Linked DNA regions of Homo sapiens: region 2 is linked to region 1. Evidence: promoter capture Hi-C in human tissues and cell types (Jung and others, 2019). All regions are on one chromosome and are shown on one strand. Each heading gives the region's core, a stretch centred on a gene start or on the middle of the fragment in contact. The rest is flanking DNA. Distances are from core to core; before and after follow the strand shown. Region 1 holds the start of LYZ (lysozyme). Region 2 overlaps MYRFL (myelin regulatory factor like).

Region 1 (5,183 bases), core at 1,736-4,235:
TTAGAATATCTTAAATTATGGCAAATCTCCATCTTTTCAGGATGGTTTTAGTTTTGGGGAATAGTCAAAAGTGTGAGAAACCCTTGGTCAAATTCCCTTTCCTAGGCCTGAAGCCCCCAACACTCACCATAAATAATTATTTTTCTCTATCTTGAGAAACAAATAAGTTGAGTAAATCATGACTATTGCCCATTGTAATACAACAAAGTAATCTAGGGTCTGTAAGCAACTTTCCTAAAAAGATAAAATGCATACATTGCATCAAAAAGAACATGCAGTACATACAAAATTTCTGAGGAAGAAAAATTATCTCTGCCCTCAAATCATGCTTACTTGCTATTTTATTTTTAAATAGATTGCTCATTAAACCTACCTCAAATGGAATGACAGGATTATAAATGGATGTTATAACTGCCCTTAACTTCTTCCCCAGGGGAGATAATTAAGGGGATCAAAAACACTTCTTCCCTTTGCAGTAGTCACATGATAACATGCTATCACTTTGGTTCAGGTTGGCAAGCAAATATTTGCTTGTTCCACTTCCAAGAAAGTATAAGGTCATAACTATTTAAACATTTGAAAACAAAAATTAATCTTATCAGCATAAGGCTGAAACCAGCATATGTAATAACTGGCTGTTCTTTAGTATTGAGTTGGGAACGGCATAAAGGGGACCAAAGACTAACTCTTTTTTTCCTTCTTTCTTTCTTTTTTTTATTTTTGAGACACAGTCTCACTCTAGTTGCCCAGGCTGCAGTGCAGTGGTACGATCTCAGCTAACTGCAGCCTCAACCTCCTGGGTTCAGGTGATCCTCTGACCCTCAACCTCCCGAGTAGCTGGGACTACAAGCACATTTTTAAATTTTTTTTTATTTTTAGTAAATATAGGGTTTTGCCATGTTGCCCAGGCTGGTCTCCAACTCCTGGTCTCAAGCAGTCCTCCTGCCTCGGCCTCCCATAGTGCTGGAAATACAGGCATGAGCCACTGCGCCCAGCCAAGACTAACTCTTTTAATTGGTTTCTGTCTCTTTGGGTCCTGAAAATCTGTCTCACTATTTATTATTATTATTATTATTATTATTATTTGAGACAGAGTCTCACTCTCTTTCCCAGGCTGGAGTGCAATGGCACAATCTCGGCTCACTGCAACCTCCGCCTCCTCGGTTCAAGCGATTCTCCTGCCTCAGCATCCCAGGTAGCTGGGATTATAGGCACCCACCACCACACCCAACTAATTTTTCTATTTTTCGTAGAGACGGGGTTTCACCATGCTGGCCAGGCTGGTCTCGAACTCCTGACCTCAGGTGATCAGCCTGCCTTGGGCTTTCAAAGTGCTGGGATTACAGGCATGAGCCACCGCAGCTGGCCATTTTTTTTTTCTTTCTTTTTTTTTTTTTTTTTTTTGAGACAGAGTCTCACTCTGTTGCCCAGGCTGGAGTGCAGTGGTGTGATCTCAGTTCACCACAACCTCCGCCTCCCGGGTTCAAGTAATTCTCCTGCCTCAGCCTCCCAAGTAGCTGGAATTATAGGCGCACCACCACGCCCAGCTAATTTTGTATTTTTAGTAGAGACGGAGTTTCACCATGTTGGCCAGGCTGGTCTTGAACGCCTGACCTCAGGTGATCCACCCACCTCAGCCTCCCAAAGTGCTGGGATTACAGGCATGAGCCACTGCACCTGGCCCTATTTATTATTGAAGAATCAAAATTAGGCCTAGCCTGAAAAATGAGATTATTCTTGATTTTTGAACAGGGTCCTTGAACTGTCATTTAAAACCAAATCTGGTAATCTTTAGAGGCCACTGATGAAAAATAAGGGTAACTACAAAGTGATGACACTTTGTGTGGCTCAGAATCTGTCCTCTTAGGCAGATACAGAAGTGCAGTTCTTTTTGAGTTCTGGTAGCATTGTTTTAAAAGCTGTGCACAGCCTCCTGAGATTGCTATTTTCAAAGGTAGCATTTAGTTGGATATATGTTTGGGTAGGTTTTATTTTTAAAATGCTGTTGCTTTCTAATGACCCCTTATGTTCTAATATGGAAAGGGGAGGCAAAGTATTGTGAAAAGTAGTTGGTAAAGTAGGCCGGATGTGGTGGCTCACACCTGTAATCCCAGCACTTTGGAAGGCCGAGGCGGGCGGATCACGAGGTCAAGAGATCCAGACCATCCTGGCCACATGGTGAAACCCTGTCTCTACTAAAAATACAAAAATTAGCTGGGCATGGTGGTACATGCCTGTAGTCCCAGCTACCTGGGAGGCTGAGGCAGGAGAATTGCTTGAACCCGGGAGGCAGAGGTTGCAATGAACTGAGATTGCGCCACTGCACTCCAGCCTGGTGACAGAGTAAGACTCCATCTCAAAAAAAAAAAAAAAAAGGTAGTTGGTAAAGTTGTTCACATGAACCTTATTTATAATAGTAAAACACTGATTTATAATAATAAAAAATTTGCTATAGTAACAAAAAGAGTCTAGAGTAAGAAACTAGCTGAGCAACGTGGTGTCACACTATACACCCATTAAGACAACAGGCACATGTGTCATGTCCATTTTGTGGAAAAGATATGTAAAATAATTTTAAGTAAAAAAGATAAATATAAAAAAGTGAATGCATACAAAACAATTTCACAAAATTGAATGTTACTCAAAAATCACAGCTCATTTTAAGCTGCACAAAATAGTCATTTTTTTCTTTATAATTGCTCAAATTCATAATCAAACAGAAGAAAGTTCCTGTCTTGGAAGTAGTGCTATGCCCCAATTCTTCCAGAGCCAGTACTTTAAACAATTCCATTTCATTATTTTCCTGTAGACTAATTCTTAGGACATCAGCATATCTCTCTTCAAGCATTAAAAAAATCTCTTTAGAGTCAGTGGATCAATAGACAGTTCCTGTTTTCCACACAACTGAAAGGGTGGAGCCCCCAAACCACAAGGGGAAGAAGGAAGTTAAAAGATGTTAAATACTGGGGCCAGCTCACCCTGGTCAGCCTAGCACTCTGACCTAGCAGTCAACATGAAGGCTCTCATTGTTCTGGGGCTTGTCCTCCTTTCTGTTACGGTCCAGGGCAAGGTCTTTGAAAGGTGTGAGTTGGCCAGAACTCTGAAAAGATTGGGAATGGATGGCTACAGGGGAATCAGCCTAGCAAACTGTAAGTCTACTCTCCATAATTCCAGAGAATTAGCTACGTATGGAACAGACACTAGGAGAGAAGGAAGAAGAAGAAGGGGCTTTGAGTGAATAGATGTTTTATTTCTTTGTGGGTTTGTATACTTACAATGGCTAAAAACATCAGTTTGGTTCTTTATAACCAGAGATACCCGATAAAGGAATACGGGCATGGCAGGGGAAAATTCCATTCTAAGTAAAACAGGACCTGTTGTACTGTTCTAGTGCTAGGAAGTTTGCTGGGTGCCTGAGATTCAATGGCACATGTAAGCTGACTGAAAGATACATTTGAGGACCTGGCAGAGCTCTCTCAAGTCCTTGGTATGTGACTCCAGTTATTTCCCATTTTGAACTTGGGCTCTGAGAGCCTAGAGTGATGCAGTATTTTTCTTGTCTTCAAGTCCCCTGCCGTGATGTGGGATTTTTATTTTTATTTTTATTTTATTTTATTTTATTTTTAAAGACAGTCTCACTGTGTGGCCCAGGCTGGAGTGCAGTGGCATGATCTCAGCTCACTGCAACCTCTGCCTTCTGGGCTCAAGTGATTCTCGTGCTTCAGCCTTCTGAGTAGCTGTGACTACAGGTGTGTACCACCACACCCAGCTAATTTTTTGTATTTTCAGTACAGATGGGGTTTCACCATGTTGGCCAAGCTGGTCTTGAACTCCTGGCCTCAAATGATCTGCCCACCTCAGCCTCCCAAAGTGGTAGGATTACAGGTGTGAACCACTGCACCCAGCCGACATGGGATTTTTAACAGTGATGTTTTTAAAGAATATATTGAATTCCCTACACAAGAGCAGTAGGAACCTAGTTCCCTTCAGTCACTCTTTGTATAGGATCCCAGAAACTCAGCATGAAATGTTTTATTATTTTTATCTACTCTACTTGATTAACTATCTTTCATTTTCTCCCACACAATTCAAGATGTGCCATGAGGAAAAGTTATTTTATAGTTTAGTACATAGTTGTCGATGTAATAATCTCTGTAGTTTTCAGATTGAATTCAGACATTTCCCCTCAATAGCTATTTTTGAATGAATGAGTGAAGGGATGAAATCACGGAATAGTCTTGTTTTCAAGATTCTAACTTGATATCCAAATTCACCTTTAGATATTATAAGAAAATTTCTATCAGAAAATCCTTATGTTTTTCTGATTAAAAAAAGCATTTTTCCATCAGCCTATGTATCTGCTATGAATTTACAAAATCTACTCAACAGCTCTGTTGATTTTTCTGTTCTTGGCTGAATGTTGCCTGAGGGATGGGAGCACGGGAAGGGTAAAAGCAATGGAACAAACATGTATTTTAATATTTTAAAAGTATGTTATATTGTTCGTTGGTGTTACAAGATGATTTGCATTACAAAAGGATTCTCTTACAAGTCCCTTATCTTAACACTAAAGTGCTAAGATATTTTATAAGTAAATCTTTATACTTATAAAACAAATCAGTAAAATAGAAGTAGCTAAGTAGAACTGATTTTGCTATAGAGTATAAGTCACTTAGTGTTGCTGTTTATTACTAAAAATAAGTTCTTTTCAGGGATGTGTTTGGCCAAATGGGAGAGTGGTTACAACACACGAGCTACAAACTACAATGCTGGAGACAGAAGCACTGATTATGGGATATTTCAGATCAATAGCCGCTACTGGTGTAATGATGGCAAAACCCCAGGAGCAGTTAATGCCTGTCATTTATCCTGCAGTGGTAAGACAAGCTAATATTTGACCAATCTGGTTATACTTACAAGAATTGAGACTCAATACAAATGAAAAAGCCTTGAAAGGTTCATGAGGGACCTAGAAAAACTACATCTCAACTTCCAGAAAGTCATTATTATTTTCCTCATAATTCCCTGAGTAAGAAATTAAAGAAGTGGTATCATAAAAGGTTGATGTTTTTTAATATACAGAAGTTTCTGGAATGACCTATTAATTTACTGTCAATGGCCTTACTGATGCTTTGTCCAGAACAATGCCATTGCTCCTGCTTACTTTGGGGAGGTTTTGGGAT
Region 2 (5,183 bases), core at 960-3,459, 520 kb after region 1:
CTTTATGGAAATCCTTTTGGTATAATAGACAAGTTTGGCGCACAAAGACTGAAACACAGTCTGATGTGCATTTCTGGGATTCTTGACATGACGATTGTGAGTAAAAGGGGCTAAGAAGTGAAGAAAAAATACCAAACAAGTGTTTTACTAGGAGCTAATCATTGCTCTTGTTTTAACAATTTGGTCAGTTTGAAGGTAGCTATCATTAATTCTCCCTTCAAATTCTCTGAAAAGAAGTGCAAAATTTCTCTAACTGTATTTAAATGCATTGAGCATGGAAGCATATAAAATACAATGAAATAAAGGAGTAGCTGTGGTGAATTTTGGAAGGGGAAGGAACTCTAAAGACAGCATTTAATATTTTAAAATCTTCATCTTAAAACCACCAACACATATTCCTGTCACTCAACGCAGGGACTTTTGGTTCTCGTTAAGGGACTGCTGGATGGAGACTGCATTCCTGTTTACAATATGCCAAGCCATATTTTTTTTAGTAGATTGATCATTTAATTGTGATTTTCAGTTTTTATTACATTATTGAATTCAATGATGCCTGTAGTGTCAGGGTAACTAAACAACTGCCTAGAGCCTTAAATGTGGAATTATGAGATCACAGAGTCAGTTACAAAATTTAATTTATAGACCTAGAGTGATACATGTGAAGAATTTAAGAAGTCAAATGATACTGTATATAGCATATAATAGGAGATTACCAGCAATCCCCCTGCTCTACCCCTGTCTTTAAATTGGCTCCCCCAGAGGCAGCCACTTTCCAACTCTTTTTGGATATTTCTTTTTTTTTTTTTTTTTTTGAGATGGAGTCTTGCTCTGTCGCCCAGGCTGGAGTGCAGTGGCACAATCTTGGCTCACTGCAAGCTCCGCCTCCCGGGTTCACGCCATTCTGCCTCAGCCTCCCGAGTAGCTGGAACTACAGGCACCTACCACCATGCCCGGCTAATTTTTGTATTTTTTTTTAGTAGAGACAGGATTTCACCGTGTTAGCCGGGATGGTCTTGATTTCTTGACCTCGTGATCCACCCACCTTGGCCTCCCAAAGTGCTGGGATTACAGGCGTGGGCCACCGCGCCTGGCCCTCTTTTTGGATATTTTTATTGCCCTATATCTAAATAATGTTTTTATATTGCTTTTTTGCTGTATACACTTGAAGAACATAATATAATCTTCTGGGAAGATTTAATTTTCTTATATCACATCTTACATTCACTTCTACACTCAGCTTCCCAATATCATAAAATTGTCTAAAATTTTTTAGTTATGTCAATATCCAGGGCTTACATTATCATGATGTGTCACATATAATTTTCATTTTTTTTTGCTTTGTTTGAATCATTGCCTTGTTTTTACAATTTGTTTGGCTTTGGTTCCCTCAAGTTCTCTAAAAAGAGCTGAAAATTTTTCTCAATGTTAAAAATAATCAATTCTTTTCCTCGTCAATAAACTCCTCAATCCATGTATGTCTTTAGTGACTTTTTGGTTCTATCAACTTGTTCTCCCCATTGTGTTCTATCATCGATGAAAGAGGAATGTTAAAATATTTAGCTATGTGATTGTACAATTGTCTACATCTTTTAGTTTCATTAATTTTTGCTTTGCGTATTTTGAAACTCTGTTATTAAGTACATAAACAATCATGATTCCTATGCCTTCCTAAAAAATGACTCTTTTATTATTAGAAATGAGCCTCTTTGTCTGTGGTGGTACTCTTTATTTTGAAGTCAGTTTTAGCTATTATTCATGAAACTGCTTCACCCTTCTTGTACACATTTTTCTCTTGGTTAACTTTTGACTTATCTGTGTCTTTATATTTCAAGTGTTTTTGCAGGCAAAAGAGAGTTGCTTTTTAAAAATCCATTCTGATCATTTCTGCCCTTTTTCCCCCTTAGGGACAGGGTCTCACTTTGTCACCTAGGCTGAAGTGCAGTGGCATGATCACAGCTCATTGTAACCTCAAATTTCTGGGCTCAAGTGATCCTCCTGCCTCACCCTCCTGAATAGCTGGGACTATAGGTGTGCACAACCACACCTGGCTAATCTTAAATAAAAAAAATTTTTTTTTTTTGAGATGGAGTCTCGCTCTGTTGCCTAGGCTGGAGTGCGATGGCATGATCTCGGCTCACTGCAACCTTTGCCTCCTGAGGTCATACGATTCTCCTGCCTCAGCCTCGTGAGTAGCTGGGATTACAGGTGTGCGCCACTGTGCCCGGCTAATTTTTGTATTTTTAGTAGAGATGGGGTTTCACCATGTTGGCCAGGCTGGTCTTAGGCTCCTGACCTTGTGATCCACCTGCCTCGGCCTCCCAAAGTGCTGGGATTACGGGTGTGAGCCACCACGCCTGGCCTTTACATTTTGTTTTTAGAGACAGGGTCTCACTATGTTGCTGAAGCTGGTCTTGAATTCCTAACCTCAAGCAATCCTCCTGCCTCAGCGTCCCAAAGCACTGGAATTAGGTGAGCTACCGTGCCTGGCCTAATTTCTGCCTTTTAATGGGAGTGTTTAATCTTTTAACATCTAATGTAATTATTAGTATTGCACAATAGACCTCCTTATTCATGGAGGATATGTTGCAATACCTCTACTGGATGCCTGAAACTGAGGGTAGTACCAAACCCTATATATGCTATGCACAAATTTCTTTTTCTTTCTTTACAGTTTCATGAATAGAAGATTAATTCTTACAGTAGATCAGGGGTGTCCAATCTGTTGGCTTCCCTGGGCCACATCGGAAGAAGAAGAATTGTCTTTGGCCACATGTAAAATACACGAAGATTAATGATAGATGATGAGCTAAACCAAAAAAAAATCAGAAAAAAATCTCATAACGTTTTTTACAAGTTTACAAATTTGTGTTGGGCTGCATCCGTCCTGGGCTGCATGCAGCCCACGGGTGGCGGGTTGGACAAGCTTGCAGTAGATTCTAGCAATCTCAGCACACGATTTTTTTTTCTTTCCTTACTATGTCAAGAATTTTCAAATGTTCACTTAAAGGAAGTACTTTGTGGCTTCTCTTGGGCATATACAAATTGCCAACTTTACATGTCTTGTGTTTGGAACCATTATAAAGTAAAATAAAGGTTACTTGAACACAAGCAATGTGATATCGTGGCAGGAAATCCGTCTTTGTCTTAGGCTACTAAGACAATGGGTGGGTAGTGGATACAGTGTGGATATACTGGAAAAAGGGGATGATTCATGGTTTATGATTTCATCATGCTACTCAGAATGGAGTGCAATTTAAAACTTACAAATTATTTATTTCTGGAATTTTCCATTTAATATTTTTGGACCAAGGTTGATTGTGGGTAACTGAAACCTTAGAAAGTGAAACCATGGATAAGGGAGGACTATATCTGTAGTTAAGTCTGACATTTAATTATTTGTCTGTCTTTTTTTTTTTGGCCCCTTCTGTTTCTTATTCTTCTGTAACTCCTTTCTTGGTTTATTTTGTATTGTTTGAATAATTTTAGAATTTCATTTTATCTGTTGACTTTAGTTCTACTTCTTTGCATTATTTAACTTTTTACAGTTTACTTAGAGTTAATGAGTTAATATTGTACCACTTTACATAAAATGTAGAACCATCAACAATGTAGTTCCATTGATCTCCAACTCCCATCCCCTATGCTATAGCTGTCCTAAGTATTATACCTATGTGCATTATAAACTTCACAAAATCATAATTTTTACTTTAAGCACTCAAATGTATTTTATTTTGTTATTTTATTTTATTATTATTTTTGAAATAACTTCTCAGCCTGTTGCTCAGGCTAGGGAGCAGTGGCAACTCATGGCTCACTCAAGCCTCATTCTCCTGGGCTCAAGCGATCCTTCAGCCTCAGCTTCCTGAGTAGCTGGGAGCACAGGTGCATGCCACCACGCCCTGCTAATTTTAATATTTTTTGTAGAAACAGGGTCTTCCCATGTTGTCCAGGCTAGTCTTAAGCTCCTGGTCTTAAGCAACTCTTCTCCTTCGGCCTCCCAAAGTGCTGGGATTATAGGCATGAGCCACTGTGCCCACCTTCAGATGTATTTTTAAAAATTAAGATAAAAAATAATTTACATTCAATAATATATCATTTTTATTCTCTTCATACCTTTTCATAGTTTCAAATTTCCATCTAGAACCATTTCCCTTTAGCCTGAATAACTGTCTTTAACATTTCTTATTGTACATGTCTATTCTCAAATTCACTTAGTTTTCTTTTATCTCAAAATATCTTTATTTTGCTTTCATTCTTGAAGACTATTTTCATTGGATATCAAATTCTGGCTTACCAATTTTGTTTTTCTGTAGCACTTTAAAGATGTTTTTGTACTGTCTTCTGGCCTCTGGAGATTTTGATTAGTCAGTGATTATTTGAATCACTATGACCCTGCACATAAGGTACTGTTTTTCTTTAGCTACTTTTAAGACTTTCTCTTTATTTTTGGCTTACAGTTACTCCACTCTGATGCGGTAGATGTATTTATTTTGCTGAGCTTCTTAAAGATATAAATGTATGTATCTTTAAAGATATAAATGTATATATCTAAGATATATACATTTATATCTTTAAGAAGCTCAGCAAAATAAATACATCTACCACATCAGAGTGAAGTATATATCTTCATAAAGATATATACATTTATATCTTTTCCTAAATTTAGGAAGATTTTGGCTGTTATATCTTAATTTTTTTTTCTGTTTCATCCTCTCTGCAGGTTCATAAATCTCTTTTTCTCTCTCTTTTTTAAAGTTCATTTTTTTCCTCTCTGTTGTTTAGATGGGATGATGTCTATTGATGTATCTTTGAGTTCTGTTTTAAGCCCATCTAATAATTTTTTTAAATTTTTATTTCTGGAATTTTTCTAATCTTAGAATTTCTATTTAGTTTTTTTATTTGTAGTTTTGATTTCTTTGCTGAGATTTTATTTATTTTTTTTCACAAGCATGTGCTTGTCTGCTCCATTTAGCTTCTTATAGTAGCTGCTTTAAAGATCCTTGTCTGCTAATCCAGTATCTGGATCATTTCTGGGTTAGTGTTCACAGATTGTTCTCTCCCTCCAAGCTAGGCCACATTTTTCTGGTTCTTTGTAGAGAGCAGTTTTTCCAACCCCTGCCGGTGGACTGCTACGGGTCCATGGCCTGATAGGAACCTGGCTGCAAGAGCATTCCCGCCTGGGC

What was found. Contacts are between HindIII fragments. The study calls those that stand out against the background at their distance.
Region 2: a fragment that was not itself captured here is called in contact with the fragment with the promoter of LYZ in region 1 in 1 of the 25 tissues and cell types used here (H1 embryonic stem cells).

What each region holds. Positions count from the first base shown.
Region 1 is chr12:69,345,396-69,350,578 of GRCh38, forward strand. LYZ (lysozyme) reads left to right here and starts at 2,986. Exons shown (of 4, transcript NM_000239.3): 1 at 2,986-3,149; 2 at 4,713-4,877. The coding sequence starts at 3,014. The HindIII fragment of the contact is 15,407 bases long and covers 1-5,183 here.
Region 2 is chr12:69,870,439-69,875,621 of GRCh38, forward strand. All of the region lies in intron 2 of MYRFL (myelin regulatory factor like), which reads left to right. Among named protein-coding and RNA genes, the nearest start is that of MYRFL, 48 kb to the left of the region's middle. RefSeq lists an enhancer at 1,366-1,535. The HindIII fragment of the contact is 5,819 bases long and covers 1-5,119 here.